Regions from separate parts of the Homo sapiens genome. Here all the other regions are linked to region 1. The links are contacts of gene promoters, found by promoter capture Hi-C in blood cells and fetal thymus (Javierre and others, 2016). All regions are on one chromosome and are shown on one strand. Each heading gives the region's core, a stretch centred on a gene start or on the middle of the fragment in contact. The rest is flanking DNA. Distances are from core to core; before and after follow the strand shown. Region 1 holds the start of OIT3 (oncoprotein induced transcript 3). Region 2 overlaps ASCC1 (activating signal cointegrator 1 complex subunit 1). Region 3 holds the start of DNAJB12 (DnaJ heat shock protein family (Hsp40) member B12). Region 4 overlaps MICU1 (mitochondrial calcium uptake 1).

Region 1 (3,608 bases), core at 394-2,893:
TGAGTGTTCATTATTGTTCTTTATACTTTTGTATATATATTTGAAATTTTTCATCATAAAAAGTAAAAAATGAAAGAGCAGGTCAACTAAAAAGGAAAAAATAGAAATAAGGGGGAAAAAACATCTTACCATCCTGGGAATTCTTGTTTACAGAACCAAAGGCTATCTGGTGAAAGTCCTTGACTCCAGCAATCAATCCTGGCAACAAGTCTGGGTTTATCTCATGCACACGTCCTCTGTTTCTCTGCAACACATATGAAGCCCTCAGATGGCTTCCTAGGCGCAGGAAGTTGTGGGGGATTGTTTTTTCTGTTTAAAGCACTGATACTTAGCAACACTATCCTGCAATGAGACAGCAGAGTCATCCATTGCTGCCATCAAACCACAACTTAATAAGTTAATGGTCAAATTGCCTGTGTCCCACTGATGTTAGTAATGAAGTAGCTAACTACAATTTTAGATCAATGGAAACCCCTTGCTTGACCATAAACCCTGTGCTTCTGGAGACCATGTGTACTTTTGTCATTGTCAAAAACCAGTGATTGCCCGAGCTCGGTGGCTCACACCTGTAATCCCAGCACTTTGGGAGGCCAAGGCAGGCGGATCACGAGGTCAGGAGATCGAGACCATCCTGGCTAACACAGTGAAACCCTGTCTCTACTAAAAATACAAAAAAATTAGCTGGGCGTGGTGGTGGGCGCCTATAGTCCCAGTTACTTGGGAGGCTGAGGCAGGAGAATGGCGTGAACCCGGGAGGCGAAGCTTGCAATGAGCCGAGATCACACCACTGCACTCCAGCCTGAGCGACAGAGTAAGACTCCGTCTGAAAAAAAAAATTGTGCTAAGAAGCACATTTTCTCTCCTTTGTCTAAAAGTGAAACTTCAGGAAATTTTGACATTTAATTTTCCAGAGTGTTAATTTAATGAGTAGTTTCTAATTTTAAGCTCCTACCCCATCTTAATGTGAGAATTAGTGAAATAAATAACATTAAACCATTTTTTAATTTTGGGAGTAAAGACAATAAAAATATGAGGTATTGCTGCTTGAATTAGTAAAAACACAATTTAAACCTTGTTTCTTTCAGAAGTTTTGAGGCCAAAGACCGTAATAAAACAAACTCAGGAGCTTATTTCAAGAGAATACTGTCCTTGTCTCATACCTGTCCTTACTACTTTGTTTTGTGTGCTATTATAAGCTCCTCAACCATCTGACCAAGACAGTTGCAGTGATTTGGCTTCATCCATTCTCGTTTAGTGTGCAGTGCTATGGCTGCAACATTGTGAAATCAATTCCTAGAAGTCACAAAGCAAGAATTTGACGTGAAGGGATGTCCCTCATTTAGAATTCCCTTCTGGATAAGATACTGGGGTTTCATTGCAGGGAATTCTTGAGAGAAAACAATAGGAGGATGAGGGATTGTGAGTTGTGTTTTTTTTTTTTTTTCCTAAAGAAAACTATTAATAAAGGAACCCTGTTGACAGTGTAAAGCAGTGCTTCTCTCTGGGGCCAAGGCCAGAGCTGTGGACACCTTATCCCACTCATCCTCATCCTCTTCCTCTGATAAAGCCCCTACCAGTGCTGATAAAGTCTTTCTCGTGAGAGCCTAGAGGCCTTAAAAAAAAAAGTGCTTGAAAGAGAAGGGGACAAAGGAACACCAGTATTAAGAGGATTTTCCAGTGTTTCTGGCAGTTGGTCCAGAAGGATGCCTCCATTCCTGCTTCTCACCTGCCTCTTCATCACAGGCACCTCCGTGTCACCCGTGGGTGAGTCTCATGTCAAGAACTTGGCACAATGCACTTTTTGTTGTGGCAATTTGCTATAATGTACAGATGATTAAGAACTAGATTCCAGTACCTTAAATGCTAGCTCTAGAATCTTGTAAGAAAAGTCCCTAATAATCCTTGAAAATAGATTTCCCGAGAATTTCTGTTACATGTTCCATTTAGCCTCTTGCCTGGACTCCAAAATTTCCATGGATCTGCCATATCCCACAGCTTTCACTAGCTAAAGAGTTCCTGGAGTATGTGTAAAAATAATTCTATCTTCTTTGTGTTCTAGGCACTTTATAGTTCCAACTTGAAGAGCCAAAAAAAAAAAAATTAAAGTTGAGCATAGAATTTTTCTTTAATGAAGGCAAGGGACTGAAAGCTCTGTTGCCATGGGGGGCACAGATCTGGATAAACCAAACTCATTAGTCTTTATGTCAGAAAATAAGACTTTTTGCACAGATCGAGTGAATCTTAAATTGTCTCCCTCCTCAGGCTTGGTGCAAAACTGGCCAGTCAGGCAAAGAAAAGTTTCAATTCCAGTTACTAACAGATTTCTCTCTTGCATCTTTTTCTAGTAGAATGTGAGTACTAACTGGAACAGAGGGTGGGGGTGAGATGGAGAGAACCATCCTTCTTGACACTTTTGAGTAGCTCAGTATCTAATTGACCCTGGCTTATTTCTTCATGGTTGCTCTAGTACCTGAAAGGATACACATTAAAAATAGGCTTGTGGCCAGGCACGGTGGCTCACACTTGTAATGCCAGCATTTGAGAGGCCAAGGCGGGTGGATCACCTGAGGTCAGGAGTTCAAGACCAGCCTGGCCAACATGGTGAAACTCCGTCTCTACTAAAAATACATACACACAAAAAAATTAGATGGTCATGGTGTTGCATGCCTGTAATTCCAGCTACTTGGGAGGCTGAGGCGGGAGAATCACTTGAACTCGGGATGTGGAGGTTGCAGTGAGCCGAGATCGAACCACTGCACTCCAGCCTGGGCAACAGAGGGAGACTCCATCTCAAAAAAATAAAAATAAAAATAAAAATGGTGATTTGAGACCCTAAGGAGACCTGACACCTAAAGGTAATGTGGGATCCTGGAACAGAAAGATATGGGTGGAAACTAAGGGAATCTGAATAAGTGTGGACTTGAGTTAATAATCAGGTATCAATAGTGGGTCATTAATGTGACAAAGGTACCATGCCAATGTGTGGTAAATGTATGGCTAAAGGTAACGTGTCATAACAAGGGAAACTGGGTGTGGGGTATGTGGGATCTCTTTGTCCTATCATCTCAATTATGCTGTAAATCCAAAACTATTCCAAAAAATATGCTTGAGCTACCTGTCATTAATCACCCCCTATCTGCTGCCAATAACTAACCCAAGGGTCGCTCAGAAAGTTGTCCTCCCGAAAATCTCCACTCCCCTTTCTTCCCACCCTTCTCCTTACCTATTCTCCCTCTAGTACCTCCTATATTCCCCATTCTTTCCATATACCATCGCCCTTCCCAGATCTTTTCCTCCAACCCCCAGCTCCTCAAGGATGATATTTGGCTCAATGCCAGAAGCATGATAAAGGGGGAACTTTGGGAACTAGAGCTGGTGTTTGCCCTGAGAGGACAGGGGAAGTGAGAGAAGAGGAAAAGAAGGGATGAGAAAGGGGGAAGCAAAGTGGGGTGATGAGGGAGGAGGATGGAAGAGGATGGAGCAGGAAAGGAGGGGCACTTCCCGACCAAGCTCAGGCACAGGGTCGAAAAGGGGCTGTGATTCAGGGGCGGCTGTCTGCCGGATAGGACCTGGAGGGTTGGAGGACTCAACCCTGGGGCGAAAGGGTG
Region 2 (3,608 bases), core at 392-2,891, 720 kb before region 1:
GGCACAAACTCCTGTCCCTTCCAGACTGTTCAATTGTCAGCTCCCTTATCAAGCCTTCTGCAACCACTACAGAATTTCTCCTCTGGGTACACACTGCACTTATCTAGTAGCACTTATCTCACAACACGGTACCTATTTCTGGAAGAAGTCTATTTCCCACACCCTAGAGTATGGGATCCTTAAGAGTAGAGTCCATTGTTGGCACATAATATGTCCTATATGTTATATATACCTGGTATAAAGTAGACATTTAATAACTAGTGCATGAATCAATAAGACACAAAAACCTGTTCAAAACTAGTATCTCCACCGAAATGGGACAATATATGAATCTTGTAAATATTTCCTTTTCTTACTTTCCTACCCAACTTGGTAGGTTTTACAATCAGAACTTGGGGCTTTTTACAATTTTCCTTACAACCAAAGACAACTATCCCATCTTCATTCTAAATCAGTTCAAAAGATAACTACAAATCCTACAACTACCCTTAAACATGAAAAATCCTAAATTATACACTAAAGCTTTTATATAAACATTTTCTTCTTCAGTGACTAATACTAACTGGAAAAAAAATCCTGCCTGAGGGAGTTAGGGGGATGCAGACCCATTACCCATTCTGCCCAGTGTAAGCCTCCATGTTACAATATGAGCAGAATTATGTAGTTTCTGCAGCTATAACTGATTCAGGTTCTCTAGGCAGCCTGAGAAATCCCCTGTTGCTTCAGATGGATCTATAAGCCTTCAAATGTTCCACTGCACATGGTTTTGAATTACCGTTTTTCATTACTGATGTGCTTTCTACTGGACCCTGCTGTGAGATAAAGTGGAATTATAGCAGCATTACTAGCTAAAAAATGATTGAGAGATATACAAGGTTGTAATATACTTCTTGAACTTGCAGGCAATGAGACATCTTTGAATCTTAATGCAAGAGACGAAAGAATGAAAAAATAAGGTGCAGCTTATCTGCAGATCACACAGATGAAGAATACCTTGCTAATGTCTGTGAGCAGCTAAATCCTACATTAAATACTCAAGATTAGGGAACTGAAGCACAGGGATGATAGTGATAATGTCTGCAGTCAAACAATATTTCTTATATAACAGATGAACACAAAGAAAGGTGACTTCAGGGAATGCTATCCTAAAAGGTAAATTCAGTTAACATGAAGAGCCAAGGGTGAGGTCAAGGACAAGTCTGCTACCAAACAAAGAGGAAAAAGAGGCTGACTGTTTTAAAGGAAGAAAGAATTATGTTCAAGGAAGGATGATCAGAAGGATAGAATGAGACCTGAGCATAGAAAAGTTGCCTGTTGTACCAAAAATGTGACCTTCACAACAACGTTTAACAATGAAAATTAATAGCTGTGATAGAATTCTCAGACTGACCCCTAATGACCTTTTACCCTGGTATAATCCAGGTTGTAGGTGGACCCTGTGGCTGTGATAATGTATGAATCCTACAAATTATATTATGTTCTATGGTACAGCGGACTTTAAGAGAGAGAGATTATCCCAATGAGACTAATCTATACCCATGAGCTGTTTAAAAAGCAGAGTCTTTGGCTGGTGGCAGAAGTCAGATCTGACACAAGAAGGATTTGGTGAAGCCAGAGCAGTCACGTGTCAAGGAAACGGCACTTTCAGACATATAGACACAAGGATCTGAATTCTGCCAACAACCTGAATGCACATGGAAGTTGATTCTTCCCAAGAGCCTCCAGATGAGATACCAGTCTGGTCAACATCTTGATTTTGGCCTTGTGAGACCCTAAGCAGACAACCCAGTCCAGCCCACTGGGTCTTCCGACCTGCAGTACTATGAAACTACCAGAGAACTGTGAGATGATACATGGGTGTGGTTTTAGGCTGCTACGATTGTGGTAATTTTTTACACAGCAATAGAAAACTCATAAGGTAGGGTAAACTATAACCTGATATTTCAACAGAATCTTTCATATCAGAGATCCCAAAAGCACTTGACGTATTTGACATAAGCTATAAAGAAAAATAAATTTACCTTCTCAAAAAAAGAAATAAACATTAATAATATCAATTTTTTTTTTCAGAAGATGAAGAGTCTCACCTTCTTAAGTCCTGAACCAGGACTGAAGGCAGACATCTTAATGAACGTGTCCTTAGATAATATCTGATCCATATGACACTTCTTTTCAACAATTCGGGAAGAGTATATGATTTGAATAATAACCCAAGCAAAAGTGGAAAGCTCTGCTGCTTGTTTTTGTTGTTGTTGTTGTTGTTTCCTGAGACAGGATCTTGCCTTGTTGTCCAGGCTGGCTAATTTTTGTATGTTTTGTAGACACAAGTTTTGGTTGCCCAGGCTGATCTCAAACTCTTGGGTTCAACTGATTCACCTGCCTTGGCCTCCCAAAGTGATGGGATTACAGGTGTGAGCCACTGCGCCCGGCCTGCTGCTCTTTTTTAAACCCTCAAATACTGTCCAAATTATTACCGAATTCCAGTCAAGGCTGTTCTCACTTGAAAATGCCTGCTGAAAGATTGGTATAGTTGGTTAGCAGTTGGTCAGTTGATTAGCAAGCAACCATCAAAATGTCTTCAATTGTTTAACAGGATATTTTTTTCCCATTCAAATAACTTTTCCTCAGTGACCCCTAGGACTGTCAACTATTTGTTCTATTGGATTAGAGCAGATGCTAGATCCTACGCAACTTCGTATCACTGCTCTACTTAACACTGTGGCATCCACTAGCTGTGGCACCTTAGGCAAGTTACTCTCTCTAAGCTTCCATTCCTTCATCAGTGAAATGAGATATAAATACCTACCTCATAGGGAGGGACTGAAGATTAAACAAAATGAACATAGGAGACATTTAGAACACTGTCTAGCAAAATACAAAGCTCAATACATATTTGCTATTTTATACATCACTCAATTATCAATTGAGTGAATAAAAACAGTGGGACACTCAGGCTAATTTACAATATTATAGATTACTAGCAGAAAAAAAATGCATGAACAGCAGCTTTATTCATAATATCCCATAAGTGGAAACAATCCAAATGTTCCAGTGGTGAAACTCAACTATTTTTAAAAAAACATAAAAATACTAATGACAGAAAAGAAAAATACTTTAAAAGAACCGGCCGGGTACGGTGGCTCACACCTGTAATCTCGGCATTTTAGGAGGCCAAGGCAGGTGGATCACTTGAGGTCAGGAGTTTGAAACCAGCCTGGCCAACATGGTGAAACCCCATCTCTACTAAAAATATACAAAAATTAGCCAGGCATGTTGGCACATGCCTATAATTCCAGCTAACCAGGAGGCTGAGGCATAAGAACTGCTTGAACCCAGGGAGCAGAGGTTGCAGTAAGCCAAGGTTGTGCCACTGCACTCCAGCCTGGGCAACAGAGCGAGACCCCGTCTTAAAAAGAAAAAAAGAAAAAAAAAAGAACCAAATGGAACTTCAAGAGATAAAAAAATAAAAGAGCTACCCAGGCACGGTGGATCACACCTGTAATCCCAGCACTTTGGTAGGCCTAGGCAGGCAGATCACTTGAGGCCAGGAGTTCAGGACCAGTCTTACAAATATGGTGAAACCTTGTCTCTACTAAAAATACAAAAAT
Region 3 (3,608 bases), core at 551-3,050, 540 kb before region 1:
TCCAGAGCCTGAGCCCCAGAGAGGACACTCCTTCAAGCTCCTGAACTGGTGCAGGGGCCTGCTGACAGAAAGATCCCCAGAGGCCCTGTGGCCCATCCTTTCTTGGCTGCCTGCTCCTGAGCCCGCAGCAGCATCAGTGTCAGGCAGAATTCTGACAGCTGGAGGATACCACCCCACCACAGAATATGAATTAATTCACAGGGAGGCTCCTCGAGCAGGTTACCTCAGGTGTCCTGGCAAATACAGCCCGAAACCCTCTCCAAGGGGAGGCAAACAGGCCAAAGATCAACCTGCAAGAGTCCGGAGGGAGGAAAGTTCAGCAGTCCAGGCTACCTCTTCCACCAGCGTTCCGCTTTCTCAATCTCATCAGGCGGGCAGGGCCGGTTAGGAGGCTGACTGCTGTTCCTCAATTTCATTTCTTTTCCTTCATAAACATTTACAGAGTCACAGAACATTTTACTTTCTAGCTGTGTCATCCTGGGCATCCCTTACCTCAGAGATTTTCCTCACCCATAGAATAAAGATAATGATCTTTGCTCTGCATCCCTGACTGGCAGGCTCAAGTGAGAAGGCACAGGTGAAGGAGCTTCCTAAACTGCAAAGCCCTATGGGTATTATTGCCAATCACATTATCTGCGCCAACCCTCTAATCTTCCCGAGGAGGAAACCCAAGCTCAGGAAGGTCACGTGGTAGCCGTCAGGATGAGACTGGGCCCTTCGGAGTGCCTGTTATTCCCAGACGGTTTACTGAGTGGTGATCACAAGCACCACCCGGTGTCTCTCTCCCCTCTAGCGTGGATTAAGAAAAACTCCTTGGAAAACTTAGGTTAAAGAAAAAAGAAAGGGTTCCCGGGTGAAGCGAGGTGATGAGTTGTAAAGCCAGCTTCACTCTTCCCTCCCTGGCTCAGGAGGCTCCTGTCCAGGGCAACTCAGCAGCCTCGGCGTCCACATGGCTGACCGCCGCTGGACTCTTGCGGGCGATGGAGGACTGGCGGTGGCTGAGGTCAGCACCTCCCACCAGGCCACCCGCTCCGAATCTCATCATCGGGAGGAGTGAGGGGCCCGGCTTCAGGACAGTCCGAGGCGGCGGACTGGGGTGGGTGCAAAGGCCGGCTTGCATTTTGGGAGAGTGGTCCCTGACCCTCAGCCCGAGAGGTGAGAGGGAGTGAAGATACGGAAGCGCCTTTCCCTGGCGCCCGAAGAACAGAAATGTCTCCCTGTCTAGCGCCCATTCTCTCCCTTAAAGGAGTTATGTTTATTTTCCTGAACTGTAATATTTCCCAGGCCGGCGACTGGCCTGGGCTACCGAACGGCCCCTTGGGAAAAGTAGTTCGAGTTCACTTCCAGGTAAGTTCCCTTCGTCCCGGCTGCCAGCGCGTTTCATTCTCGGAGACCTCAAACCCCAGCGGGCTCCGCCAGCACCCCGAAAGCTGAAGTCCCGGCCGCCCGAGTCTCCAGACGGCTCGCATCCCGCAGAGGAACAAGAGGGAAAAACTACGCCTCCCAGCAGCCACCGCGCGCCTCAGTGCGCAGGCGTAGCCGCGCCTCGCCACCCCTCCCCCTCCCCCAACTGCTCCCGTCGGTCCGTTCCCGTGTTCCCCCCATCAGTTCTAATGTCCCCAGTCTCTCCGGCACCTCACACTCACCGCGAACTCGCGGCGTCGGATACAGCCGCTGTGCCTTCTCCAGGAAGCGGAGCGCCCGGTCGGGCTGGTTGCTCTGGATGGCCTTGAGGGCGATGCTGATACAGCGCTCAGCTTCATCCTTGTTGGATTCCATGGCGGAACCAGAACGCGGAACCAGGGAGGGGGAGGCCGGGCGAGCGAAGGGCTGCGCCACCCGCCGGCGCGTCGCGGGCAGCCGGGCGCGGAGTGATGACATCCACCCTCCGCCCCTCCTTTCCCGAGTTTTGAGCGAGGGTGGAAGTGCTACCGTATGTCTTCTAAGAAAGGGACGGCTGGTGTAGGTGTCAATAATGGTGCACGCCCAGATTCCATGTTCCGGAGGTCTTAGAGTTGAGTATGCGCCAACCCTCTAATCTTCCGGAGGAGGAAACCCAAGCTCAGGAAGGTCACGTGGTAGCCGTCGGGATGAGACTGGGGCCTTCGGAGTGCCTGTTATTCCCAGACGGTTTACTAAGTGGTGATCTATATACGTAATGTAACTACATACGTTTCAGACAAAGGTTATTTATTCACTGAACAGATATTGAGTGCCCACTGTTTGTGAGGCATGGTTTTATGATGGGGATACAGGGGTGAGCAAAACAAAGCTCCTGCTCTCATGGAGCTTACATTCCAGTGTGTGTAGGCTGGGGGAGCTCCAGATAGATTCAGATAGTGATAAAAGCTCTGAAGAAAAATTATGGAAAACACAGGGATAGAGAGTGGGAGGCGCTATTTTAAATAGCGCGATAAAAGAAACCTCTCAGAAGCTGTCATTAACAGGTACCAGAATTCAGGAACGATAACAGGTAGATGTGACTGTCTGGAGGAAGGGTGGTCAGGCCGAAGGAACAGCAAGTGCAAAGGCTCTGAAAAGGGAATTCTCTTGGTGAGTTATAACAGATCAGGAAGGCGAATACATTCTAGGGAGCGTAAAGATTCTACTACAGGCTGGGCGCGGTGGCTCACGCCTGTAATCCCAGCACTTTGAGAGGCCGAGGCGGGCGGATCACTTGAGGTCAGGAGTTCGAGACCAGCCTGACCAACATGGAGAAACCCCGTCTCTACTAAAAATACAAAATTAGCCGGGCATGGTGGCACATGGCCTGTAATCCCACCTACTCGGGAGGCTGAGGCGGGAGAATCGCTTGAACCTGGGAGGTGGAGGTTGCGGTGAGCCAAGATCACACCATTGCACTCCAGCCTGGGCAACAAGAGTGAAACGCCATCTAAAAAAAAAGAAGAAAAAAAAAAGATTCTACTACAGAGTGTAATCCAGTTCTATCATTATCCCGTTCTTCGAGGGCTATCACTCCAGTGAAAGCAATCTTGTGAAGGTTGCCAGTGACCTCCACGTTGCCGAATCCCCGAGTCATCTGTCAGCCCTTACATTGCTTGGCCTTTCAGGCAGGATTTGGTAAGATGCTACTACAGTAATCCGGATGAGAGTCAGGAAGCTACTATTATAATACAGGTGAAAATTAATGGTAACTTGGATAAGGGTGATGGCGGAGGTGGTGAGTAGTAGTAAAATTCTGGATATATTTTGAAGACAGAATGACGCAATGGATGTGGGCTGTGAGAGAAAGAAGATTCAAGGATGATTCCAATGTTTTTGGCTTGATAACTGGAAGAAGAGAATTTCTATTTACTAAAACAAGGAAATGGAAAAGACTACAAAAGCAGTTTGGTGGGGGAATATTAAGGGTTTGATTCAGTTTATGATGCTTTTTAGAATCAAGCAGAGATACAGACTAGGATGTTGTACATACGTAGGGTTTAGGCAAAAAGGACCTGGAAATATAACTTTGGGGCCAGGCACAGTGGCTCACTCCTATAATCCCAACATTTTGGGAGGCCAGGGGTGGGAGGATCACTTGAGGCAAGGAGTTTGAGACCAGCCTGGGCAACAGAGTGAGATCCCATCACTACAAAAAAATAAAA
Region 4 (3,608 bases), core at 287-2,786, 520 kb before region 1:
TTCCATTAGCCCAGCTTTCTGGAGGATGATGAACAACAAATACTGGCTGTGGGGTAAGAGAGGGTGGTAATATAGTAAATAAAACAGAGGGGGCAGTACAGTTTTAGTTCAAATCCTGGTTTTGCCATCTACTATTATCTTTTTTTTTTTTTTTTTTTTTTTTTTGAGATAGAGTCTCGCTCTGTCGCCCAGGCTGGAGTGTTGTGGCACGATCTCTGCTCCCTGCTGCCTCCCGGGTTCAAGTGATTCTCTTGCCTCAGCCTCTCGAGTAGCTGGGATTTCAGGCACGCACCACTGTGCCTGGCTAATTTTTGTATTTTTAATAGAGACGGGGTTTCACCATGTTGGCCAGGCTGGTCTTGAGCTCCTGACCTCAGGTGATCCGCCTGCCTCAGCCTCCCAAATACTATTATCTTTGTGACCTTAGGAAATCTACTTAACCTCTCTGAGTCTCAGCTTTCTCATCAGTAAAAAGTGGTCAATAACAATACCTAGGTCAGAAGATTAAATGAGCAGATTAACTTTCTGGCTCATAGTAAGCATTGAAAAAGTGTAAGCATCCGTTGTTATTGTTGTTATTAGTATATCAGCTACCATACCTAAAAAATAATGCCAAGGTCAAACCAGAACCAGATCTCTTGAATGGGCTAAATGACAGAGCAGAGTGGCCACAGACACAACAGACCACTGTGTGGAGCTGGAATGCTATGGAGATGGAATGCAACTGGCTGGAATGTGCCCTGGGTGGTGGAGAGATCAGTACTGCCTTCTTTCTAAAGACACTCAGATACCTGAGTGCTCCGTATCCGCTAAGTAGCAAGTTGAGTCTGACATTTTTGTTTCCATTTTTAAGATGCTTATGGTCATAAATTAATTTAGGCCTATAGGCATATTGGAATTATAAGAAGAAGAAATGGAAAACAGAAGCCAGGGCCAGGGGTTCGATTTCTCAGTATCATCATGCCAAGGGCTGAGGTGCTAATGTGAGAAAGGTGGGTAGCTTGAAGAGGATGGGCTGGTACACAGATGCTGTCCGCAAGGCTCCATTATACACAAGGGCCTCTAAGGGCAGCTAGGCTGTTTCCCCTCCGGGCTCCAGAGGGCCCCACTCACCATCACAGTCAAAGAGTGCAAACACCACATCACACACGTGGTCTGAGAGCTCCACTTTAGCCACTGTCCTGGCCACCTGCTGCATGGTCACTGAAAAAAGAAAGAGGTGCATTAGCACAGCAGAGGGATTTTCATTTTGCTTTCTCTGATTCAGGGGATAAAACGACTCAGTCATAATACAAGTTTTCAACTGCATTTAAGTCACATTTAAGAAAATGATAAGTTAGGCTGGCCACAGTGGCTCATGCCTGTAATTCCAGCACTTTGGGAGGCCGAGGAGGGTGGATCACCTGAGGCCAGAACTTCAAGACCAGCCTGGCCAAGATGGTGAAACCCTGTCTCTACTAAAAATACAAAAAATTAGCCGGTGCCTGTAATCCCAGCTACTTGGGAGGCTGAGGCAGAGAATTGCTTGAACCCGAGAGGCGGAGGTTGCAGTGAGCTGAGATCACGCCACTGCTCTCCAGCCTGGGAGAGTGAGACTCCGTTTCAAAAAAAAAAAGAAAAAATGATAATTGAGTTTTTATTCATAAGCTCCCTCCTTTTCACCTCAAGTTCTGTTCTTTTCTACTGCTGCTACAGTTTAGGAGGTATATATAGTTAATTAAGAATGCCTAGGCTGGCCAGGCGCGGTGGCTCATACCTGTAATCCCAGCACTTTGGGATTCCGAGGCAACATGGCGAAACCCTGTCTCTACAAAAAATACAAAAAATTAGCCCGGCATGGTGGTGTGCACCAGCTACTTGGGAGGCTGAGGTGAGAGGATAGCTTGAGCCCAGGAGGCAGAGGTTTCAATGAGCTGAGATGGCGCCACTGTACTGGAGTAACACTCTATGTAACAGAGTGAGACACTGTCTCAAAAAATAAAAAGTGCCTGATATTCAATTTATAGACAGAAAGTAGATTAGAGGTTATTGTGGGCTGAGGGGAATGGGGAGTTACTGCTTTATGTATACAGAATTTCTGTCTGGGGTGATGGAAAAATTTTGAAAATAGTGATGATGGTTGTACAACATTGTGAATGTAATTAATGTAATTCCACTGACTTGTATATTTAAAAATGGTTATAATGGCACATTTTATGCCATATATATTTTTATATTTATATATATATTTATAGAAATATATAAATGGGTGGTGGGAACAAGGAGGCTTGTCTGTGGTGTGAGTACACTAAGGCTTCACGCCTTGGTGGGTGAATGACAGCTAAGTGCCTGCACAGTGAGCCCTCCCTGCCCAACTCTGTCCCTCCTCCCTACTGGTTTTGCACCAGACTTCTTCCAACTGAGCCCATTGGTATATGCACTGGCCCTTGTCTTAACAGTTCAGGATGCGTATCTTTCTTTTTTTTTTTGAGACAGAGTCTTACTCTGTCCGCCAGACTGGAGTGCAGTGGCACGATCTCGGCTCACTGCAACCACTGCCTTCCGGGTTCAAACAATTCTCCTGCTTCAGCCTCCCAAGTAGCTGGGACTACTGGTGCCTGCCATCACGCCTGGCTAATTTTTATATTTTTAGTAGAGATGGGGTTTCACCATGTTGGCCAGGGTGGTCTTGAACTCCTGACCTCAGGTGATCTGCCCACCTCGGCCTCTCAAAGTGCTGGGATTACAGGGGTGAGCCACCACACTCAGCGGGCCCGGCCAATAGTTCAGGATGCATATCTTTCTTTTAAAAAATATATATTTTTAGACCTCAGCAAAAAATCACTTTTCTCTTGCCGTTTTCTCTTTCCCAGACATTCACCGTCAAACACTAGCAATTATGTTAGAATTGGGTTCTCATGAAAGACAAGACAGGAAGGACGAGGCAATTTCCACTGCCTTCTCTCTCATTTATCCTCAAACCTGGTCTAGCTACACCTATAAATCATGTTATTGCTTCTGGACACATTCTTAAGTGAGGTAAAATATGAGGGAAAGAAAAGGATTAATTTCCATTTATGCTGGTAATGAAGAGCTCTCTATAATCATCACATTAGATTCATCCAGAAGCCAAGTGAACTTAAACTAGAACCACTGTGCCTTGTTTATCGCATTCCTATAATTTCAGTTCCTATTATCAGCCCATCTTGTCATTTTTTGCATTTGATCTTTCACTTTGCCTCTATCACCTCCATATATTTACCCGATACGGTTTAGATTTGTGCCCCCACCCAAATCTCATGTCAAATTGTAATTCCCAGGCCAGGCGTGGTGGCTTACACCTGTAATCCCAGCACTTTGGGAGGCCAAGGCTGATGGATCACCTGAGGTCAGGAGTTCGAGACCAGCCTGGCCAACATGGTGAAACCCTGTCTCTACTAAAATAAATACAAAAATTAGCTGGGCGTGGTGGTGCGCACCTATAGTCCAAGCTACTCAGGAGGCTGAGACATGAGAATCACTTGAACCTGGGAGGCGGAGGTTGCAGTGAGCCAAGACTGTGCCACTGCACTCCAGCCTCGGTTACAGAGCGGGACTCTGTCTCACAAAAGCAAAACAAAAACAAAAAA

The links. The method cuts DNA at HindIII sites, captures the fragments that hold promoters and counts their contacts. A CHiCAGO score of 5 or more calls a contact.
Region 2: a contact is called between a fragment that was not itself captured here and the fragment with the promoter of OIT3 in region 1, in 1 of 17 cell types (neutrophils). The highest score is 5.2, in neutrophils.
Region 3: a contact is called between the fragment with the promoter of DNAJB12 here and the fragment with the promoter of OIT3 in region 1, in 8 of 17 cell types (erythroblasts, endothelial precursors, M2 macrophages and 5 more). The highest score is 12.6, in erythroblasts.
Region 4: a contact is called between a fragment that was not itself captured here and the fragment with the promoter of OIT3 in region 1, in 11 of 17 cell types (total CD4 T cells, erythroblasts, endothelial precursors and 8 more). The highest score is 7.8, in total CD4 T cells.

Annotation. Positions count from the first base shown.
Region 1 is chr10:72,892,096-72,895,703 of GRCh38, forward strand. OIT3 (oncoprotein induced transcript 3) reads left to right here and starts at 1,644. Exons shown (of 9, transcript NM_152635.3): 1 at 1,644-1,764. The coding sequence starts at 1,704. The HindIII fragment of the contact is 8,602 bases long and covers 761-3,608 here.
Region 2 is chr10:72,176,870-72,180,477 of GRCh38, forward strand. All of the region lies in intron 5 of ASCC1 (activating signal cointegrator 1 complex subunit 1), which reads right to left. Among named protein-coding and RNA genes, the nearest start is that of ANAPC16, 37 kb to the right of the region's middle. The HindIII fragment of the contact is 2,243 bases long and covers 521-2,763 here.
Region 3 is chr10:72,353,119-72,356,726 of GRCh38, forward strand. It overlaps DNAJB12 (DnaJ heat shock protein family (Hsp40) member B12), which reads right to left and starts at 1,801. Exons shown (of 9, transcript NM_017626.7): 1 at 1,647-1,801. The coding sequence starts at 1,779. RefSeq lists enhancers at 1,258-1,387, 1,778-2,027. The HindIII fragment of the contact is 22,726 bases long and covers 1-3,608 here.
Region 4 is chr10:72,374,670-72,378,277 of GRCh38, forward strand. MICU1 (mitochondrial calcium uptake 1) reads right to left here. Exons shown (of 12, transcript NM_001195518.2): 11 at 1,114-1,203. Among named protein-coding and RNA genes, the nearest start is that of DNAJB12, 22 kb to the left of the region's middle. The HindIII fragment of the contact is 6,523 bases long and covers 1-3,608 here.